4 separate regions of the Homo sapiens genome follow, and all the other regions are linked to region 4. The links are contacts of gene promoters, found by promoter capture Hi-C in blood cells and fetal thymus (Javierre and others, 2016). All regions are on one chromosome and are shown on one strand. The core of a region is centred on a gene start or on the middle of the fragment in contact, and the rest is flanking DNA. Distances in the headings are between cores, read along the strand shown.

Region 1 (2,700 bases), core at 95-2,594, 2.4 Mb after region 4:
TCATTTGAGCCTAGCACTTTCTGACCGGCCTGGGCAACATAGTGAGACCCTGTTTCTAAAAACAAACAAACAAAAAAAAATCCAAAAGGAAAAAGGAAATCATACAGCCTAAAGTATTTAATACTACCAAGTCATTGTCAGTCTATGGTATTAGGGCTATTTGTTTAAAGCCCTTAATTCTAAAAAATATTCTGGAATTTTAAAAAAAGGAAATCACAAGTATCGAAAGAAAACATATGTAACTGTTTATAATCTCTGGGTAGGGAGAGATTTCCTAAGCATAATAACAAAATCCGATTTTACGGCGGCATAATTTAAAACTCTAGTATATCAATAAAGACCATAAACAAAAGTAAAAGCCAATCAACACACTTGAGAAAAATATTTGAGGTATATAAATGACACAGGATCAATAATATTAAAAGCTTTTGTAAATCGATAAGAAAATATGAATGTTCAGTATGAAAATGAGCAAAGTAGTGCACAGGCAAGTTACCAAAGAGATAGAAATGGCCAGTGTATGTGTGAAAAACTGTCCAGCCATCACAATCAAGGACATGCAAGTGAAACAGCCAGGCCACTTTCCAGTTTCAAATTGGCAAGAGCACAGGGGCCAGATCGTGAAGCTGAGGAGTTTGGCTGCAGTTGGTAGTGGATGGGGGTGCCCTTGAAGGAGTCTGAGCAGAGGAATCCGATGCCTTTACAGATGGAATGGAGCTGCGGGACTGAAGGCTGGGCCAGCAGTCTAGATGTGATGAGGTTGTGGCCTGGAAGAGTACAAAGCATGAGAAAAGAACAGTTGGGTTGAAAGCACTTGGAAGGAAAAACCAGTAGGTCTTGATGGTTAGCAGAGAGAAAAATCAAGATGGCCAGTGCTGTGGCTGGGAGGACAGTAACACCAAAGGAAACAGGGGTGCTGGGTAGTAGGTGAGGAGAAGTCTGGGATTTGTTTTTGACACTGTGGGCCATTGTGTTAGTCTGGAGTCTCATTACTAGAGACTGGCAACCGACCCAAATGATAAAAGCTACAAAAACATTTGCAGCCCTTCTCAATGGTCAAGTCCTGGGTTAGAGCTTCAGGCACATCTGGATGTGGATGCTCAAATATCATCAGGGGTCCTTTACTTTTGTCTCAAAGACAGGGCAAAAATGGCCACAAGAGGCTCCAGGCTCACAGCCTACCAACTGAGCACAGCTCCCGAAGTGACTGTATCGGCCCAGACTGAGAAATGAGTCCATTACTGACCTGACCACTGTGATTCTAATGGAACAGACTGAGGTCATGTGTGTTCCCTGGGAGCCAATGGAAGCTGTCAGCCCTACCCAAATCTATTCAAAGTGCAGGCAATGGTTCTCAAAGGGAAAATTGGGGATCAATTCACAATAAAGAGGGACTAGAGCCGGGCAGCAAAAACAATAAAAGTCCACTGTATTTCACTTCTTAGATGTCAAAGATCGACACAGACCCCCTTTACTGTGTAATTTTAAAAAATATTTTCCTGTTTATCATAATGCAACTATCCCTCACCAAACTTAAAGCACAGTTATCCCACTTCTGGGAGGAGACATTCCAAGTTTTCACCCAGTTACCACATCTATCCCCAATTCAACATCTTGGCAATGGCAAGGGGCTGTTTGTTTGGTTAGGTACTAAGGTCATGGTCTTTCCATTTAAGGCCCAACTACAATGATGGAGAGAAAACTGTATAGCTGGAAGAAGAAAAACCCTCCTAGTTGAAGAGGGGGGTGAGGAAAAAAACCTGGACCGTGGTCCACATGCTTGACTGAATGGTGAGGAAGAGGTTTCCTGGTACACCAATCTCACTGCTCTGATTTTGCTGTCTCTGTGAGAGGGGCATTGAAGGGTGCATGTTTGGGGAGGTTCAGGGCAACCATAGGGGCTGAGCAATCCTTTGGTTTGTGGGGGCTTTCTGGCAATACAATCCCCTTAATCCCTGGGAGGCTTTTCAGTCAGTTTGCATTTGGTTATCCCCAGAGCTATTAACCAAAGCTAGAGACCTCTATGAAAGTTATGGTTCTTGAATGAAGTCCCTGGTGGTGGTGTAGAAGGAGGGAGGGGTTATCTCTTAGCAACAGGCCTCAGTGTTCTGCCCATCCCAGGAGCCCTTGGTTCTGCAGCCTCTAACTGGGCCTCTGCCACAGGGCAAAGCAAACTCCAACTTTGGGGAGGGAGGCAAAAGGTCATCTGCCCCTTCTCACTGAAGCTGCATCCCAATGGAAGGCTGCTTATAATGGAAGCTTCTGTCCAGCTGGGAGGGCACAGCAGGAAGGGTTCAGCAGGGCCCAAGGAGTTGAGTACCTGTCAGGCCCCAGGCTTATCTCCCTCTTAGTTCCCAGCCTCTTTGTCTTCGCTTGAGCTGACTTTAGCTTGAAGCAAAGAACTGGCTCTTAATTATCTGACTCTCAGCCATATTGAATTACTGGCTGCAGGCAGAAAGGGCCTCTCTGGGCAAGCCCAAATTTTCTTCCTCTCTGCTTTCAGATGGGCTCCTTTCAACCAGAGTGTGTCTCTTGCTTGTTGGACCTTACTGAGGCCGTTGGAAAGACACTCCCAACATCCTGACATTTTTCTACAAATCCCCTAATGTTCCAGCCATGGTAGGTACATGGCCTGAGCTCCAGGGATGGTGGGAGACAGTTTAATCATCTGCTTTGCTGCTGCTCTGTTCACCAACCTGT
Region 2 (2,700 bases), core at 142-2,641, 2.4 Mb after region 4:
CTTTCAACCTCGCTCCTTTTTTTTATTCCTCTAATAAATAAGAAACAAGGTCGGGTGCGGTGGCTCACGCCTGTAATCCCAGCACTTTGGGAGTCCAAGGTGGGTGAATCACAAGGTCAGGTGTTCGAGACCAGCCTGGTCAACACGGTGAAACCCCGTCTCTACTAAAAATACAAAAATTAGCCAGGCGTGGTGGCGTATGCCTGTAATCCCAGCTACTTGGGAGGCTGAGGCAGGAGAATTGCTTGAACCTGGGAATGGAGGTTGCAGTGAGCCAAGATGGTGCCACTGCACTCCAGCCTGGGCAACAGAGCAAGACTCCATCTCGGGAAAAAAAAAAAAGAAAAAGAAACAAGAGCAGACTCCAGTAATTGGCCACAGGTATAATGGAAGGTTTTGGAATTTCAGCTTACTGATCTTCCTCTTCATCCTACTTTAAAACTTTCACTAAGCATCATTAAGCTTAATGGCTTACAAAACAAGTGTGTCTATGCCAAGGCACACAGCGCTCAACGCCACAAAGGCAAGGACATACATTTTATGCAAGCTGTACCAACATCACAGGACTGAGGTTTCAGGGGACCTTTTCACCTCTCTTTCGATTACAGAAGTATTCTAGAATATCAGGGGCCAATTTGAAGACAGGAAGACTCTTGGAGATAGAAGTTTCACATTCCAAAAATGGGGAGGAGATATCAAGAGCCAATACAGCAGGGAAACGTCAATCTGACAGAGGAGGGGTCAGTTCAGGGAAAATCCAAGTGTGATGATCTAGAGCCCACTGGTGAAGTTTTATCACGGCAGAGAATGGCGGTTCTGATCCCTAGCTGTGTGAATGTGAACCAAAGCTCTTACGGAAGCCCTGGCAGCGGGATGGACTGATTTCAGAGATGAAAGGAAGCAAACAACCACCTCGCCGAGTAAGAGCTAACATTGCTGAGTGCTTACTATCTGCTAGGCACACTGACAAACTGAGAACCAGAAATTAAATAACATGCTCAAAGTCACACAGCTAGTAAGTGGCAGAGCTAAGTTACAAACCTAGGCATTCAGTGTAGCTCCAGAGGCCTTACTCTCAACTGCTGTACTATGCTGCCTCTGCACAGAAGATGAAGACGACTTCAAGAATGAGCAATGCTAGAGACATAAAGGGGAGAGGAAGTACTGTTAAATGCTAATTTCCTTCTACCTTGGGTACAAGCGGGATTCATAGGGCATTTGGTAGAACACCTAAAAGGTGTCTGCGTCCCTAACAGGACAGAGAAAAGCTGCAGGAAGCAGGAAAAGAGCAGAAGATAGAGTCGGACAGGCCAAAATGAATAAGTGAACTGCCAAGTGCACAGAAAGCAGTATCTCAGTCAGGGTCAAACACCACCTCGGAAGCTGGCCCTACTCAATAACAACCCAGGAGATACCATCGAGGCTTGGGACCCACGGAAAGTATCTAAAGCTCCGAGAGACAGAGAAAAGAAGTGTGGGAAGTAGGGCTACAAGGAGCACTTTAGGTGGCTCCAGGACTCACAGCAACTCCCTCGCCCCAAATTTCAAGAAAACGAGACCCAGAGTTAGGTAGCCAACTAGAAAAGCCTTTCTTATGTCACCAGAGTCCGAGCCTGGGTCTTCCCACCTCCGATACAGTGTCTCCATCTACCTTTCCCGTTCTCCTGGCTGAGAGGCTGCAACCCCCAGCAACCACCAGGGCCTGGTACATTCAGTAGGCACTAAAGACGCGTTTATTTAATGACTGAGCGAATGAGTGAATGAATTAAAAGTACTAGGGAAGGCGTCTGCTTCTCTGCACGCTGCGGTGAGGGTCAGCGAGTGAACATAGTGAGTCCCTAGGCGGGCACAATATGAGGTCCCCAATGTGCCTGTGCCGGTTCCAAGAAGCACACGTCTTTACAGCCCGCAAATCTCAGAGCAGCCCCAGCTTCCAAGTCTAGCTGCCGACCGCGTAACCACGGCCGACCTGCACTCGTTTCACGCAAGTCCCGATCATGCGGGGCTAAAAAAGAGGTCCCCGACGTGGGTTCGCGGGCCCGAAGCACCCTGGGACTTGTAGTCCCCAACCGGCCAGCCCAGAGACTCCTCTAAAGCCCCACGCAGCCCTCGCCAACGGCTCCAGCGCCGTGCTCGGGCCGAGCCAGGCCGCGGCTGGCTGGGGTCGCCCCTAAGCTGGGGATCTGGGCGAGGACAGAGGCGGCAAGCAAAAGAGGGTCCTACAGAGCAAGCCCAGGCCGAGCGGCGCCGGCCACCGGCCAGATGGCAGCTGATGGCGACGGATGCGCGAGACGCCACTCACCATCATTTTGGAAGCTTATTCAGCGGCCCGCCACTCTCCCCTCTTCTCCGAGACCGGGCCGCCCAGCAACCCACAATGCCTCGCGCAATAGAAATACCCAGAAGCTTGGGCCGGGAGAGGAAGAGAACGGACCACTTCCGCTACTCTATGGTTCGTTACCACCGACTCGGTGCGGCTAGAAGGACCTGAGGCTGGGCTTCGGGGACTCTCTAGTGAGGGGCGTTCATTAAAGAGGGGTCGCCGCATTTCGGTCGTGCTTCTTAGAGCACGGAGGGTCTTTGCTCGGCCCGCATCACCTACTAACTTAATTCCACCCTCCTCCATCCCCGGACGCCAGACCAAGGAATGCAATAAAGGCAAAAGTGTGGGACGCAAAGTGTGGGATAGGCTGGTGCCAA
Region 3 (2,700 bases), core at 139-2,638, 2.4 Mb after region 4:
GAGATGAGACTAGGAGAGTAGGCAAGCTTCTTTGCTGGAGTTGGCTCTGATGCTTCTGCAGCCAAGATTCACAGCCTCCTTAAGGCTAGGATTTTTTTTTTTTTTCTCAAAAGAAGCCCAATTATTTCAAGTACTGATTCCAGGGAGATATTTCCCACGGATTCCCTGTGTGTTGCTGGGATCAACATCCTTAGAGCGAAAGCCATTTGTATGAAGGCAGAAAAAATGTTCTGCAGAAGCATCTCATACCCTGTGGGTGAGGGAGGAGTGAGCAGGAATTGGCCCTACTTTTCTGGAAGACAATTTGCCAGTTGTCTATCAAAATTTTACATATACTTTGGCACACAATTACACTCGTTGGAATTTATCTCACAGACACATTCACATTTATATAGTCAAGGATGTTGACTCCAACAACATTGGTATAAGTAAAAAGTTGGAAACTGCCTACATGCTCATGGATAGGGGACAAATCGACTAACTCAAGGTCCTCCCTTACAATGGAGTACTATACAGCCTTGAAAAAGAATGACAAGATCTTTATGTCAGGACATGGCACAATCTCTAAGTTATTTCAAGTGAAAAAATAATAATAATAATAATATTGCAGAACAATGTGTATGGTTGGATATACATAAAATTCTTCTGAAAGAATACCCAAGAAACTTAAATGTGGCTACCTCAGGAGCTAGGAATGAAGGTAGGTGGAGAGGAGGGACTTTTACTTTTCAATTTAGAATATACCCTGTTGTGCTAGTTGACTTTCCTCCTACTGTTAACAAGTATTACAGTCCTTTTTAATTTAAATTATTTTTCCTAGCACAAATTTAAAAAAAAAAAACTTAAAATGGAAAAACACACAGGCGTGAGCAAAAGAAATGAATGGCAATAATCTCTGTGGTTTACTGAGTGCGCCTGGACATTTATGTGCTCTCAGTTTCTCTCCACAGGAAATGCACAGGTGAGAAACTGACGTTAAGGGGGACTGAGTGTCAAGCTAGTTAGTGGCAGAGGGCAGATTCAAACCCAACACGGTCCTCCCCTGCTGCCCCTCGGCCTCTGCCTCCAGGTGGGAAGCGCATCTACCGGACGGTCGGCCCGGTGAGGCGCAGCGCCCCAGACTGGCGCATCCGCGGCCCCAGCGCTCCACGCCTGGGGAGCGCGCGCGCACGCAGCGGCGCGAGCCTGGCGGCGGCGGCGACAACAACAACGTCACAGCTCGAGCTTTCCTTTTCGGGAGTCCCCGGCACACATCCTGTGTCCATGTTTGGGCATTTACGTCACGGCGGCAGGGCCGGGGCCTCCCAAAATGGCAGTGGCCCGGGGAGTCGGAAGCCCGGAGCCAGCGCCGCCGCAGCTATATAAGTGGGGGGGCTGTGGGCTGGGGGAGCCCGGCAGCGCTTTGGAGAGGCGAGGAGCCGCCGCCCGAGGCCGGTGCGGGCGAGCGAGGGCGCCGCGGCTCCCCGACTCCTTTCCCAGAGGTGAGTGCCCGAAGCCAGGAGCCCGGGCGCCTAGGTCTGTGCGCTGCGGGGAACCCCTACCGCCAGCCTCCCCGCCACCCGCGCGCCCCCAAGCCCAGCGGGCGAGGCCCCGGGCGCCCCACAGCCGGCGCCGCGCCATGCTCCACCTTAGCGAGTTTTCCGAACCCGACGCGCTCCTCGTCAAGTCCACTGAAGGCTGTTGCGCCGAACCCAGCGCTGAATTGCCCCGGCTGCCTGCCAGGGACGCTCCCGCGGCCACCGGCTACCCTGGAGGTAAGGAGGGCGAGCAGGGGTGCTCAGACGACGACGGCGCAGCGCGGGGGCGCACCATACCTGAGAACCAGGAGGGACTGGGACATTGGAGCTATGAGAATAGGGGCGATGGGAAGCTTAGGAGTCCTGGGGTGCGCACCCCCATTCCCACCCACACTGGGCCGCCAGCGCCTCCGCAGGAACCTGTGCGGTTATCGGAGCGCCCTTTTGCCTGTGCACGTGTGTTTTGCGTGTGCATGTTTCTATGTGCTCCTTGGGACGTATGCGGGCCCCTGCTGAATCAGAATGTGCAAAAGGCACTTTGTGTATATCCGTGGGCACCAAGAGTTTTGTAGGTAGGGGCTGTGGACTCAGGTGCACCCTTTGATGTGCCCAGAGCTGATTCCTGCTCCCTCCTCAGCAGGCGACTTCTTGAGCTGGGCTTTGAACAGCTGCGGCGCAAGTGGGGACTTAGCCGACTCCTGCTTCCTGGAGGGGCCTGCGCCCACACCCCCTCCCGGCCTCAGCTACAGCGGTAGCTTCTTCATTCAGGCAGTGCCCGAACACCCGCACGACCCGGAGGCACTCTTCAACCTCATGTCGGGCATCTTAGGCCTGGCACCCTTCCCCGGTCCAGAGGCAGCAGCGTCCAGATCCCCGCTGGATGCCCCTTTTCCTGCGGGGTCCGATGCCTTGCTGCCGGGTCCGCCGGACCTTTACTCCCCGGATCTGGGCGCTGCCCCTTTCCCAGAGGCGTTCTGGGAGGCCTCGCCTTGCGCGGGTGCCCCCTCGCAGTGCCTGTATGAGCCTCAGCTCTCCCCGCCCGACGTCAAGCCCGGCCTCCGGGCGCCTCCCGCCTCGCCAGCGCTGGACGCTGTCTCTGCCTTCAAGGGTCCCTACGCGCCCTGGGAGCTGCTTTCTGTGGGGGCCCCAGGGAACTGTGGGTCACAGGGAGACTACCAGGCCG
Region 4 (2,700 bases), core at 50-2,549:
GAATATTTTAAATGTTAAAAAAAGAAAAGAAAAAAAAAAGCCAGGCGTGGTACCAGTAGTTCCAGCTACTCTGGAGCCTGAGGCGGGAGGATCACTTGAGCCCAGAAATTTGAGGCTGCAGTGAGCTAAAATCACCACTGCACTCCAGCCTGGGAGACTGAGAGAGACTCTGTCTAAAAAAAATTTAAAAAATAAAAAAATTAAAAATCCCAGAAGTAATCCAATCAATAATCTACAGCCCTTTCAAAAAGCCTATAATCATATCAGGTTTTTCCTCTGAAAACTGGCTTTTTAAAAAGGTTGCTACATAGCTCTCTTTTCAGACCTTAAGTCCTTTAAATTTACATGTACCTCCAAGATTACCACCATTCATATAAGTTTTTATTCACACTATTTTGATGAGTAAGTTTCAGACACAATTTAGTGGCCAGTTTTACTGTGCTTTGTCTGCCAAAACTTCCAACCTAAACCATAGCAAATTTTTTAAGTTGGCCAATCGATTCCTATCCAGGGTTAAGGGTCTTTTGAGAGAAAAGAAGAGCTCTTGGACGTAAACAGGTATAAACAGGATATACCTCAGAGAAAAACTCTGGTACAGGACAAATACCACAGAGAAAAGAGTTTAAAATATGGGGAACCCCTACTTGAAGTTCTGACTCAATAAAACTGCAAAGAAGTTCAATGCTGGCTTGGGGAGAAGTGAGAAAGAAAGAACAGTGTGGTGCGCTGGCTCTTGAATCCTACACACCTGCTCGTGCAGGGGGAGGTGCAGCCCCCACCTTAGAGCCGGGACCTCGAACGCGAACGCGCTCACGCGCGCACCGACCCCAGTTGCCGGCCTAGCGCCAGGGCAGTGCCTCACCTGCGTTCCGGTTCCACGGGGCGGTGCTTGTCCACGATGACCGGTTTCGGCGGCGGTTGGAACGCACCGGGCTCGGAAGGCCCAGTGCTCTGCTGCCGGACAGGCCCCGCGTGGACCCCTGCGGGAGCGGACGACGGAGGTCAGAACTCTCGTGCCAACCCTGAGATCCCGCAGAGCCCCGCAATCTCCCCCAACCCGGCGTCCCACGGGGGACCAACGCTGGGGTTGCCTCTGATCTCCAGGTTCGCCTCCCCCATCCTGACCCTGGGCCCCTAACGCGCCCCAGCTCGCAAGTCCGGCTCCACTTACTGCAGGCGATAGAGGCCGGCGGGGGGAGCAGAGTCCTGGCGGCTTGGAAACTCCGGCCTAGGCCCATTGCAGCCCAGTGCCCCGCTGCAATGCAGGCCGCCATGCCAGCTAGCTCACGTCAAGACTACAGCTCCCAGTAATCAGTGCGACGAGGTTGTTGCTGTCTGCCACCATATGGCGGCTGCTATGGGACAAAATGGATAAGTCTCTCCTCGCTCCTTTCCTGATGTCTTAGGAAAAGTGCACGTTTCTCTAGTTCCTCGTAATGCGCCAAGTTACACCCCTCCACAGGGGTGTTCTCCCAGCCTAGAAAGCTTTTTCCTCCCCCTATGAATCCACTCTATCTTCTCAGACAAGCTTTCGCTATGCGAAAATCCCATTGTAGGCCGTCTTTCCCACTGGGTGCCTTCGATTGGCAGCTCTGATCTCATTTGCAATTCTTTCTTGTGTAATTATTAGATTAGTATTTAAATCTGCCATTATACTATAATGAGGCAAGGGAAGGGATAAAGTCTTCTTTTTGCTCACCATGTTATCCCAGCACCTAGCACCTACCTGGGCCCTCACTAACATCTTTTGTTTTGTTGAGACAAGGTCTTCCTCTGTTACCCAGGCTGGAGTGCAGTGGCGCGATCATGGCTCTGCAGCCTCCAACTCCTGATGTCAGGAGATCCTCTCACCTCAGCCTCCCGAGTAGCCAAGACTACAGTCTCGCACCATCACGCCCAGCTAATTTTTCTAATTCTTTGCTGAATGCACAGAAAAGAGAATAGAATAGTTCCTGACAGAACTGCTGGCCCATAGTCCTTGAGACTACACAAAGCATTAACCCTTTGAGGAACCCAAATGAATTTGGGCTGGGCAACTGTGGGTATGGATAGGTGGGAGAAGTAAAGCTGGAAAAGGTAAATTGTAAGTCTTGTTAAGAAATTTGGAAAATGACTGGGCGTGGCCAGGCATGCCTGTAATCCCAGCACTGTGGGAGGCCGAGACAGGAGGGTCCCTTGAGCTCATGAGTTGGAAACCAGCCTGGGCAATATAGTGAGACCGTATCTCTAAGAAACAAACACACAGCCGGGCGCAGTGGCTCACGCCTTTAACCCCAGCATTTTGGGAGGCCGAGGCGGGCAGATCGCCTGAGGTCAGGAGTTTGAGACTAGCCTGGCCAACATAGTGAAACCCCGTTTCTACCAAAAATAAAAAAAATGATCCAGGTGTGGTGGCAGGCTCCTGTAATCCCAGCTACTTGGGAGGCTAAGGCAGGAGAATCGCTTGAACCTGGGAGACAGAGGTTGCAGTGAGCCGAGATCGCGCCATTGCAACAAGAGCGAAACTCCGTCTCAAAAAAACAGAAAAAGAAACACACACAAAAAAAGAAATTTGGAATTTGTTATTTCAGCAGTGGTTATATAAGGATTGAACACTTAGAGTAATGTGATAATTTAACTACATAATAGTCATTCCAGTTGCATTAATGTCCCAAAGCTACCTCAAATTCAGCCTATCCATACTGAGTTCATCTTTTTCAG

The links. The method cuts DNA at HindIII sites, captures the fragments that hold promoters and counts their contacts. A CHiCAGO score of 5 or more calls a contact.
Region 1: a fragment that was not itself captured here is called in contact with the fragment with the promoter of MRPL19 in region 4 in 1 of 17 cell types (M0 macrophages); the score reaches 6.2 in M0 macrophages.
Region 2: a contact is called between a fragment that was not itself captured here and the fragment with the promoter of MRPL19 in region 4, in 6 of 17 cell types (total B cells, monocytes, fetal thymus and 3 more). The highest score is 12.3, in total B cells.
Region 3: the fragment with the promoter of EGR4 here is called in contact with the fragment with the promoter of MRPL19 in region 4 in 4 of 17 cell types (naive CD8 T cells, activated CD4 T cells, total CD8 T cells and 1 more); the score reaches 8.4 in naive CD8 T cells.

Annotation. Positions count from the first base shown.
Region 1 is chr2:73,272,106-73,274,805 of GRCh38, reverse strand. All of the region lies in intron 1 of FBXO41 (F-box protein 41), which reads left to right. Among named protein-coding and RNA genes, the nearest start is that of FBXO41, 11 kb to the left of the region's middle. The HindIII fragment of the contact is 1,834 bases long and covers 428-2,261 here.
Region 2 is chr2:73,233,987-73,236,686 of GRCh38, reverse strand. CCT7 (chaperonin containing TCP1 subunit 7) reads right to left here and starts at 2,379. Exons shown (of 12, transcript NM_006429.4): 1 at 2,303-2,379. The coding sequence starts at 2,308. RefSeq lists enhancers at 2,492-2,561, 2,682-2,700, 2,373-2,700. The HindIII fragment of the contact is 1,854 bases long and covers 465-2,318 here.
Region 3 is chr2:73,292,236-73,294,935 of GRCh38, reverse strand. EGR4 (early growth response 4) reads left to right here and starts at 1,388. Exons shown (of 2, transcript NM_001965.4): 1 at 1,388-1,754; 2 at 2,155-2,700. The coding sequence starts at 1,619. RefSeq lists a silencer at 1,026-1,105. The HindIII fragment of the contact is 1,844 bases long and covers 29-1,872 here.
Region 4 is chr2:75,645,382-75,648,081 of GRCh38, reverse strand. MRPL19 (mitochondrial ribosomal protein L19) reads right to left here and starts at 1,299. Exons shown (of 6, transcript NM_014763.4): 1 at 1,172-1,299; 2 at 863-980. The coding sequence starts at 1,274. RefSeq lists enhancers at 1,070-1,369, 1,205-1,499. The HindIII fragment of the contact is 2,636 bases long and covers 1-1,487 here.